Regions from separate parts of the Homo sapiens genome. Here region 1 is linked to region 2. The links are contacts of gene promoters, found by promoter capture Hi-C in human tissues and cell types (Jung and others, 2019). All regions are on one chromosome and are shown on one strand. The core of a region is centred on a gene start or on the middle of the fragment in contact, and the rest is flanking DNA. Distances in the headings are between cores, read along the strand shown. Region 1 has its middle 170 kb from the start of PRDM13. Region 2 holds the start of COQ3 (coenzyme Q3, methyltransferase).

Region 1 (5,089 bases), core at 2,092-4,591, 390 kb after region 2:
GCAGTTTTCTAGATATAGGATCATGTCATCTGCAAACAAGGATCGTTTGACTTCCTCTCTTCCTATTTGGATGCTCTTTATTTCTTTCTCTTGCCTGGTTGCCCTGGCCAGAACTTCCAATACTATGTTGAATAGGTGCAGTGAGAGAGGGTATCCTTGCCTTGTGCTGATTTTCAAGGGAAATGCTTCCAGCTTCTGCCCATTCAGTATGATATTGGCTGTGACTTTGTCATATATGGCTCTTATTATTTTGAGGTATGTTCCTTCAATAGCTACTTTATTGAGAGTTTGTAACATGAAGGGATGTTGAATTTTATCAAAGGTTTTTTTCTGCATCTATTGAGATAATCGTTTGGTTTTTGTCTTTAGTTCTGTTTATGTGATGAATTACATTTATTGATTTGCATATGTTGAACCAACCTTGCTTCCTGGGGATGAAGCCAACTTGATCATGGCAAATAAGCTTTTTGATGTGCTGTTGGATTTGGTTTGCCAGCATTTTATTGAGGATTTTTACATCAATATTCATCAGGAATATTGGCCTGAAATTTTCTATTTTTGTTTTACCTCTGCCACATTTTGGCATCATGATGATGCTGACCTCATAAAGGGAGTTAGGAAAGAGTTCCTCCTTTTCAATTGTTTGGAATAGTTTCAGTAGAAATGATAACAGCCCCTCTTTGTACCTCTGATAGAATTCAGCTGTAAATCTGTCTGGTCCTGAGCTTGTTTTGGTTGGTAGGTTATTTATTACTGCCTCAATTTCAGAACTCATTATTGGCCTATTCAGAGATTCAAATTCTTCCTGGTTCAGTCTTGGGAGGGTGTATGTGTCCAGGAACATATCCACTTCTTCTAGATTTTCTATTTTGTGCATAGAGGTGTTTATAGTATTCTCTGATAGTTGTTTGTATTTCTGTGGGGTCAATGGTGATAACTCCCTTATAATTTTTGATTATGCCAATTTGATTCTTCTCTCTTTTTTATTAGTCTAGCTAGTGGTCTATTTATTTTATTAATTTTTTCAAAAAACCACCTCCTGGATTCGTTGATTTTTTGAAGGGTTTTTCATGTCTCTATCTCCTTCAGTTCCGCTCTGTTCTTGCTTATTTCTTGTCTTCTGCTAGCTTTGGGGTTTGTTTGCTCTTGGCTCTCTAGTTCTTTTAGTAGTGATATTAGGTTGTCAATTTGAGATCTTTCTAACTTTTAGATGTGGGCAGTCAGTGCTATAAATTTCCATTTTAACACTGCTTTAGCTGCAGCCCAGAGATTCTGGTACGTTGTCATTTTGTTGTCATTGGTTTCAAAGAACTTCTTGATTTCTGCCTTAATTTCATTATTTATGCAGGAGTCATTCAGGAGCAGGTTGTTAATTTCCATGTAGCTGTGTAGTGTTGAGTGTTTCTTAATCTTGAATTCTAATTTGATTGTGCTGTCTGAGAGACTGTTATGATTTCAGTTCTTTTGCATTTGCTGAGGAGTGTTTTACTTCCAATTATATGATCAATTTTAGAGTAAGTGCAATGTGGCAATGAGAAGAATATATATTCTGTTGTTTTTGGGTGGAGGGTTCTGCTGATATCTATCAGGTCCACTTGATCCAGAGCTGAGTTTAGGTCCTGAATATCTTTGACTTTATCACTGAGACATTTCTGTCTCGATGATCTGTCTAATACTGTCACTGGGATGTTAAAGTCTCCCACTTTTATTGTGTGAGAGTCTAAATCTCTTTGTAGGTCTCTAAGAACTTGCTTTATGAATCTGAGTGCTCCTGTATTGAGTGCAAGAAGTACAAGCTCTTCTTTTTGAATGGAACCCTTAACCATTATGTAACGCCCCCCCTGCCTCCGCCTTTTTTTTTTTTTTTTTTTAACCTTTGTTGGTTTAAAGTCTGTTTTTTTGGAAACTAGGATTGCAACTCCTGCTTTTTTTTCTATTTTCCATTTGCTTGGTAAATTTTCCTCCATCCCTTTGTTTTGAGCCTATATGTGTCTTTGCAATTGAGATGGGTCTTTTGAAGACAGCATACTGATGGGTCTTGGCTCATTATACAGCTTGCCATTCTGTGTCTTTTCATTGGGGCATTTAGCCCATTGACATTTAAGGTTAATATTGTTATGTGTGAATTTGATCTTGTTATCATGATGCTAGCTGGTTATTTTGCAGACTTGTTTATGTGGTTGCTTCATAGCATCATTGGTCTGTGTACTTCAGTGTGTTTTTGTAATGGCTGGTAATAGTTTTTCCTTTCTATATTTAGTGCTTCCTTCAGGAGCTCTTGCAAGGCAGGCCTGGTGGTAATGAATTCCCTCAGTATTTGCATATCTGAAAAGGATCTTATTTCTCCTCCAATTATAAAGCTTAGTTTGGCCAGATATGAAATTCTGGGTTTTGGGAGGCTGAGGAGGGCAGATCACTTGAGCCCAGGAGTTTGAGACCAGCCTGGGCAAGATGGAGAAACCCCATTTCTACAAAAAATTATGAAAAACTAGCCAATGCGGTGGTGCTGCACATTTGTAGTCCCAGCTACTTAGGAGGCTGATGTGGGAGAATAACTTGAGGCTGGGAGGTTGAGGCTGCAGTGAGCTGTGATTGTGCCACTGTATTCCAGCCTGGGTGACAGAATGAGATGCTGTCTGAAAAAAAAAAATAGAATTTCTGGGTTGGAATTTGGAACTTCTTTGCTTTAAGAATGTTGAATATTGGTCCCCAATCTCTTCTGGCTTGTGGGTTTCTACCGAGAGGTCTGCTGTTAGTGTGATGGACTTCCTTTTTTAGGTGACCTGACCTCTCCCTCTAGCTGCATTTAGCATTCTTTCTTTCATTTAGTCCTTGGAGAAGCTGATGATTATATGTCTTGGGGATGATCTTGTTGTGAAGTATCTTCCTGAGGTTCTCTGGATTGCCTGAATTTGAATGTTGGCCTCTCTAGCTAGGTTGGGGAAATTCTTATGGATAATATCCTGAAATATGTTTTCCAAGTTGCTCCCATTCTCCCATTTCTTTCAGGGGCACCAATGAGTCATAGATGTGGTCTCTTTACATAATCCCATATTTCTCGTACGTTTGTTTATTCCTTTTCGTTCTTTTTTCTCTACTCTTGTCTGTCTTATTTCTTAAAGCAGCTCTTCAAGCTCTGAGATTCTTTCCTCAGCTTTATCTATTTTGCTTTCAATTCTTGGGATTGCATTATGAAATTCTTGTATTGTGTTTTTCAGCTCTATCAGGTTAGTTACATTATTTCCTATATGGGTTATTTTGTCTGTCAGATATCGTATCATTTTGTTGTGATTCTTACCTTTCTTGAATTGGGTTTTAGTGTACTCCTGCATCTCAATGATCTTCATTCCTATCCATATACTGAATTCTATTTCTGTCATTTCAGCCATCTCAGCCCAGTTCAGAACCCTTGCTAGAGAGGCAGTGTGGCCATTTGGAAGAAAGAAGGCAGTCTGGCTTTTTGAGTTGTCAGAGTTCTTGCACTGGTCCTTTCTCATCTTTGTGGGCTGGTATTCCTTCATTCTTTGAAATTGCTTTCCTTTGGATGGGTTTTTATCCTTTTATCCTTTTTGATGACCTTGAAGGTTTGATTGTAGTATAAGGTAGGTTCAGTTTGTTGGCTTCATCTGTAAGATTTTGGAGGCCCAAGGCTTAGCTCCCAACTGCATGCTCTAACTCTGGGTGACTTGTATCTGTCCTTGACTTTGTTCTCTAGTTCCTTGAGCTTAGAAACCCACAGTGGTGGGGGGAGAAGGTGCTCTCAGACTACTGGTCACTACATTTTGATGGGTGGTGGCAGCCAAAGTGTTTTATAGAGTGGTGGCAGCAGCATCCATCCTTGTTCGCATGTGTTAGCAGCAGCGGCAGTGGCAGTGCAGCGGGGCACACACTTGTCGGCTGCAGTGGGGTGCTAGCGGGTGCTGGGGTGTCTGCCCCTGTGCAGGCATTCACAGCAGCAGTGGAAGCAGCATGGCCTGGGGTGGTTGGGGGCGCCTGTTGGTGACTGTGTGTGTGGTTACACTGGTGGTGGTGCTAGCACAGGGGTGGGGACCTGGCAGGGGCAGGTCTGTATGTGCCTTTCTCTCTAGCTGCATTTGGCATTCTTTCTTTCATTTAAAGAAATGTAGGGGAGGGTTTGCTGTTCTTCATGCCTAGTTTCACTGGTGGCAGTGCTGGCTCTGGGGTGGGGCGCTTGTGCAGGTGGGGCTGGCTGGCTCTGTGTCCACCAAGGCTATGGCTGCAATGGTGGTATAGCAGGCAAGGGGGAGTGGGGTGCAGTCCCACTGGAAGCAGAGGCAGGGTGGGGTGGACATGCACATGTGCACTGGTAGGGCAGGGAAGGCAAAATCCACCCATGCACACACAGCCCAGCAATGAAATGTGAGAGGTGGCTGTGGACTCAGGGAAGCTGTAGTGTGGGGAGAGAGTGGGTAGGCTGATGTGTGGCCACAGGGGCTGGAGCTGGAGCTCTATGCCAGCACAGGAGCTATGATGTGGACCCTCGGGGCACCAGATGCTGCACTGCAAGCAGGTGTGGCCAGGCTGGGCCCTTGGAAGAGCCCAGCAGACCAAGGGGTGCTCAGGTCAGACTGGCCCTATCTGATGGCCAAGACCGCCCTGCAGAGCTCAGGTTGGACAGTTTTTCTGGGGCTAAAGTCTCCTATGGGAGCAAGTTGAGCCTTGGGGAATGGGTGTCCCTGGTCATGCTCTGCTACAAAGCTCCTGCACCAAACCCTCTGGGCTCTACATTGGCTGGCATGCTGCCCCTACCACTTCTCTGAGCAGTTCTCCCTGCTGGCTCAAGTGTCTGTAATAGTTAAGGAGTCTCCTCATGCCGGGATTCCGGAGGCCTGTGGTGAGAGTGGGTTGCTCCTTGCCAGCTCAAGTCACCCATTCCCCTGGAGTCACTGGGGGCCAAGAATGAGTCCCATTGCACGGTAGCCCCATGCAGGGTTCCCACTTCAGTTCAGCTCCTGTGTCTTCCCTCTATCCACTCCCTGCCTTCCCTCTGAAGATCTGTTAGGAGTGCACCAGCCGTCCTGTTCCCTCGGTAGCAGCTGTTCTACCTCAGTAGCGGCTGCATCTAGTT
Region 2 (5,516 bases), core at 431-2,930:
CCCCTGCCTTTACCTTCTGCCCTCCACCTACACACTTTACTTTTCAAGGAACCTTGCAGTTTCTCACAAACTTTCTCACAGATTCTCGAGCTGGTCCTTTCCCCTCTCCAACTGCTTTTTTTTTTTTTTGAGACAGAGTCTCACTCTGTTGCTCAGGCTGGAGTGCAATGGTGTGATCTTGGCTTACTGCAACCTCTGCCTCCCAGGTTCAAGCGATTCTCCTGCCTCAGCCTCCCGAGTAGCTGGGATTACAGGCGCCTGCCGCCACGCCCAGCTAATTTTGTATTTTTAGTAGATAGGGTTTCACCATGTTGGCCAGGCTGGTCTCGAACACTTGACCTCAAGTGAGCTGCCTGTCTCGACCAACTGCTTCTAAAACTGGCCACCTCCTTCAAGATTTCTCTAAATATCCCATTCAAGAAGTTTCCTTGATCCCAAATATGGATTAAATGCTCCTTCTATGTTCACCCCTCAAAAATTGGAACTAGGTTTATTATATCTTTTCTAAATTTTTGATTATAAAAGACACATGTTTACTAAAAAAAGTTCAGAAAAAGAAAAGTATATAAAGGATAAAATGATAGAAAATCACCTACTCTACCACAGGCAATCACTGCAAAATTTCTCTATATATCTCCACCTGTAACTCCAAGTTCACTATACATACTGATTTGTAACTTTTTTTTTTTTTTGGCTCCTTCCAGGAAACAATGAAACTTTACTTTCTTAACACTATATCTTACTACTTTTCCATGTGGGTACAAATAGATTTAAATCATTTTTATTGGCTGTACTATTTTTCACTGTATGATAGTACCAACTAATAACCTTTATTAATGGGCGGTTAGATTCCCCATTTTTTTGTTCATTATATCCTGATCTTAGGTTTATCCTAACATTTTTAAAGAGATCCTTGCGGTGTCATTCATTTTTAAATTCCCAGTGCTCATACCAGTGTCTGGCATACAGTATTTGTTAAGAGTTCCATGTGAAAGATGAGCTTAAGTTTCTACTTAATACTGAGAGTTCGAAAATCAGACTGCTGTCTACAAGCACTGAGCAGTGCATTATTTTCTTGATCTCATTTGCAAATGCAGTCTGTTGGATTAACCTATTAATCAAAAAGTAATACAGCTGCCTTAAATTCTTTCTGAAAAAAACAGCAAGCTTTGTGCAAACAAAACACAGATACAAAGCTATGCATAACTACGAGGCGTGAGTTATTCCTGCCCCGGCAAAGGAAAGATGCATGACCTTCAGACTGCAGCACACGCAGAGCGGGTCGCCGGCTCCTGGGGCAAGGAGCTCAGCCACAAGAGACCCGCGGCCTGCGCTTTTCCAGACAGGACCACTGGTCCTGAGCTCTTTTCCCCGGCGTCCGCCAACGGGACTATGCGAGGTTTACAATGGAGAGAGATGGGGCCAGGACCAAGCCTTAGGTTTCGCGCTGACCCCTCGCGAGGTCCAGAGACAACCCACCGCCCCACCCCCGGCGCATGCGCAGAGACGCCAGCGCTCGCAATTGACTGCATGCGAAGGACCTCCGCACACACACTCACCCGCCGAGGAAATTAAGGGACGCGCAGCTTTTGTATTACAGCCTCCAGGCCCCAGCACTCTTAAAAACCAACCCCCGGAGGAGCCCAGCTTACGGCCACTCCACATCGCGACAAACGATCCCACCTCTTTTCCGGTCCCTCCCGAAAAAAGATCCCCAACATAAAGGTTCCGAGATCACTTTCGCCGTCTGCAGCCGACTTTTTTTTTTTTTTTTTTTTTTAGCAGAGTCTGTTCTGTTGCCCAGGCTGGAGTACAGTCCCCATCTCGGATTCTGGGATCACTGCAATCTCCGCCGCCCGGGTTCAAGCGATTCTCCATGTTGGCTGGTCTCGAACTCCTGACCTCAGGTTATCCGCCCGCCTTGGCCTCCCAAAGGGCTGGGATTACAGGCGTGAGCCACCGCGCCCGGCCTGCAGCCGACTTTCATGATTGTATTGTTGAGTGTTATGTATGTATGGCTATACTTTCACGCTCATTTAGCAAATTGCACATGGAATTAAACTGCAAGATGTTTTTACTATCATAAACAACTTTGAAGATACTTTATTGCTATAGGACACCTCAAACCTCATGTTCGAAGTTGACCTCAATCAGGCCATTACTTCGTGCTGTGTCTTCTTTTATTGCCATGTAGCTCTATTTCACACTTAACAGATGTCTCTTCAAGGACTTTTATATTCCTGTAAGACATTGACCCTACTGCTAAGAATGCAAGAGTATGGGAGCACTTCTTCCTCAAGGGAAGAATTGTTTCCCCTTTCAAGGCACTCAAATATCAGATGGCCAGAAGGCCAAATGTAAAACTTATTTTCTGCAAATGACTATTATCTTGTACAGGGTATATACATCATGTAGTAGGAGGCTTCTGTGGCTCAGTCTAGGCAAACTTCATTTAGAGCTAGGAACAGTGATCAGTAACATTTTACGTCTAAATGCACAAAGTCTTTCTTTGGGTAAGAACAATGACGAATCTCCAACATTGAAGACAAAAAATTATTCTGTATTTTCAACAGGTAGGGTCAAATTGGTAAAGGGTTCTTTCAGTTAGCGAAATTTACCGCTCAGGAATCTTTTTTTTTCTTTTTTTTTTGAGACAGCCTCACTCGGTTGCTCAGGCTGGAGTGCAGTGGTAGGATCTCAGCTCATTGCAACCTCCGTCCCCCAGGCTCGGGTGATTCTTCGTGCCTCAGCCTCGTAAGTAGCTGGGATTACAGGTGTATGCTGCCATTCCCGGCTTAATTTTTGTATTTTCAGTCAGGGTTTCACCATGTTGGCCAGGCTGGTCTCAAGCTCCTGACCTCAGGTGATCTGCCTGCCTCAGCCTCCCAAAGTGCTGGGATTACAGGTGGGAGCCACCTCACCCAGACAGCAATAGTCTTTCATTCATGGTTCTTAGCTAAAATATTGACCTCCTCCTAAGGGTGGTCGCACTTTTCAGTTGCTATGTCCTCTTCAGAGCTCCTCTACCCTTAGATACATGATCCTCTCTCCACATGAAGGCAGAAAGCTCTGCACAAAAGAAAATGTAGCACGTCTTGTATTTATTGGAGTGACACATCCAAGGAAAAAGCAAAGTGCAAGCACAATTAAATAAAGTTCTAGGAGCTTTATATGTACTTTCTTTGAAGGTACCACACTTCACTGGGCTTCAGAGCCTTTCCACTACATTTTAACAAGAAGGGGAATCAATGATTTGCTTTATGCTGACAAGTATGTCTTTTGAACACCCAGAACAGGTCTGGCCCAAATAAGCAAAACTAGCTCATAGTATTTCTCGCTACAAACATCAACAAAGGGCTTTCCCAATGACCCTTAAGCCTAAGTGGTATTGGAAAGTTGTAATGGCTGTAATGCAGTATATGGCCATTGTTGGAGATATTTCCCCAGACTATTATTGTTATGGTCTCACCCGTAAGTCTGCGTATTTATTTTGCTCTAAAACTCTTAATGTCTGTTTTGTAATTCAACTTTATAAACATTTTTTTTTTCATCCAAGGGTAAAGTGCTCCCTTGTAGCTTTGAAATGATATACAGCTGGGCGTGGAGGCTGACACCTGTAATCCCAGCACCTTGGGAGGCTGAGGTGGGCGGATCACCTGAGGTCAGGAGTTCAAGACCAGCCTGGCCAACATGGTGAAACCCCATCTCTACTACAAAAAGTACAAAAACTAGCTGAGAGTGGTGATGGAATCCTGTAATCCCAGCTACTTGGGAGGTTGAGGCAGGAGAATCGCTTGAACAAGAGAGGTGGAGGTTGCAGTAAGCTGAGATCACGCCATTGCACTCTAGCCTGGGCAACAGAGCAAGACTGTGTCTCAAAAAAAAAAAAAAAAAAGAGATATACCACTACATCCACTCAGTTTAACTGGTAAGTTTTCACATTTACTTAAAAATTTTACATAAATTGGTAACTCAGAATAATTCTATCATAACTTCTACCAAAATCAGAATGTGGCAGATTTAACCAAGGTATCTTTAAAGGAACTCTATAGGTATCTGATAAACCTTTATGATATAAATATAACCCATGTGTGCTTTTTGAAGAGCTAAAGCCCATTTTCTCTTTTAAATTTTACACAACAAAATTCCACTTAAAACTGAAAAACTTAACAGCTAGATGTGTTTAGAACTAATCTAATTTGGCCAGGTGCGGTGGCATACACTTGCAATCCCAGCATGTTGGGAGGCCGAGGCAGGCGGATCACGAGGTCAAGACCATCCTGGCCAACATGAAACCCTGTCTCTATTAAAAATACGAAAATTAGCTGGGCATGTTGGCGCACACCTGTAGTCCCAGCTACTTGGGTGGCTGAGGCAGGAGAGTTGTCTGAACCTGGGAGGCGGAGGTTGCAGAGCCAAGATCATACCACTGCACTCCAGCCTGGTGACAGAGCGAGACTCCATCTCAAAAAAAAAAAAAAAAAAAATTCATCTAATTCCTCCCTTACACAGCTGAAGAAGTTAAGGCCCATGGTGATTTAGTGATTTGCCTAAAACACATCAAGAAACAGAGCCAGCTCAATCCAATGACTCTACTACTACTTCCATTTATGCAATCGGCTGGGAGCGGTGGCTCACGCCTGTAATCCCAGTACTTTGGGGGGCCAAGGCGGGTGGATCGCCTGAGGTCAGGAGTTCGAGACCAGCTGGCCAACATGGTGAAACCGTTTCTACTAAAAACACAAAAATTAGCCAGATGTGGTGGTGGGTGCTGTAATCCCAGCTACTCAGGAGGCTGAGGCAAGAGAATCACTTGAACCCAGGAGGCAGAGTTTGCAGTGAGCTGAGACTGCGCCACTACACTCCAGGCTGGGCAACAGAGAAAGACTCCATCTCAAAAAGCAAGAAACAGCAACTATGCAGTTGCTTAACTTGGGGACATGTGAGAAATGTGTCATTAGGTGATTTCATTGTGATGTGAACATCACAGAGTATACTTACATAAACCTAGATGGTATAGACTACTACACACCCAGGCTACATGGTATAGCCTTTTGCTCCTAGGCTACAAATACTATATTGAAAACTGTAGGCAACTGTAATATCATGGTTTTGTGTATTTAAACACAGAAAAGGTACAGTAAAAATACATTATAATCTTATGGGACCACTGTTGTACATGTGGCCCGTCATTGACTGAAACGTCGTTATGTGGTGTATGTCTGTACTCAGTACATTTTAGAAACTTCAGTAAATCAAAATACATTTAAATTTATGTAGGAGAAGAAAAACTCAGTTTAGATGTAAAGATTTCTGTAAGGCAACACTACAGAGACTGGAAACCTAATACAACTCCTATGTAAAAATTCCCAAATACAGTAAAAAATTCTTTACTATTACCTTTCATGTGTTTAAGGAAACAAAAAACTCAGGACACTTAAAAATAGACTGCGAAATTTACCTACTTGGTATTACACCACTAGAAACAGATGCTAAAAAGGTAATTTTATAGTGGC

The links. Contacts are between HindIII fragments. The study calls those that stand out against the background at their distance.
Region 1: a contact is called between a fragment that was not itself captured here and the fragment with the promoter of COQ3 in region 2, in 1 of the 25 tissues and cell types used here (lymphoblastoid cells).

What each region holds. Positions count from the first base shown.
Region 1 is chr6:99,775,900-99,780,988 of GRCh38, forward strand. No RefSeq gene overlaps it. Among named protein-coding and RNA genes, the nearest start is that of PRDM13, 170 kb to the left of the region's middle. The HindIII fragment of the contact is 3,860 bases long and covers 1,412-5,089 here.
Region 2 is chr6:99,392,515-99,398,030 of GRCh38, forward strand. It overlaps COQ3 (coenzyme Q3, methyltransferase), which reads right to left and starts at 1,681. Exons shown (of 7, transcript NM_017421.4): 1 at 1,560-1,681. The coding sequence starts at 1,665. RefSeq lists an enhancer at 937-1,576. The HindIII fragment of the contact is 11,809 bases long and covers 1-5,516 here.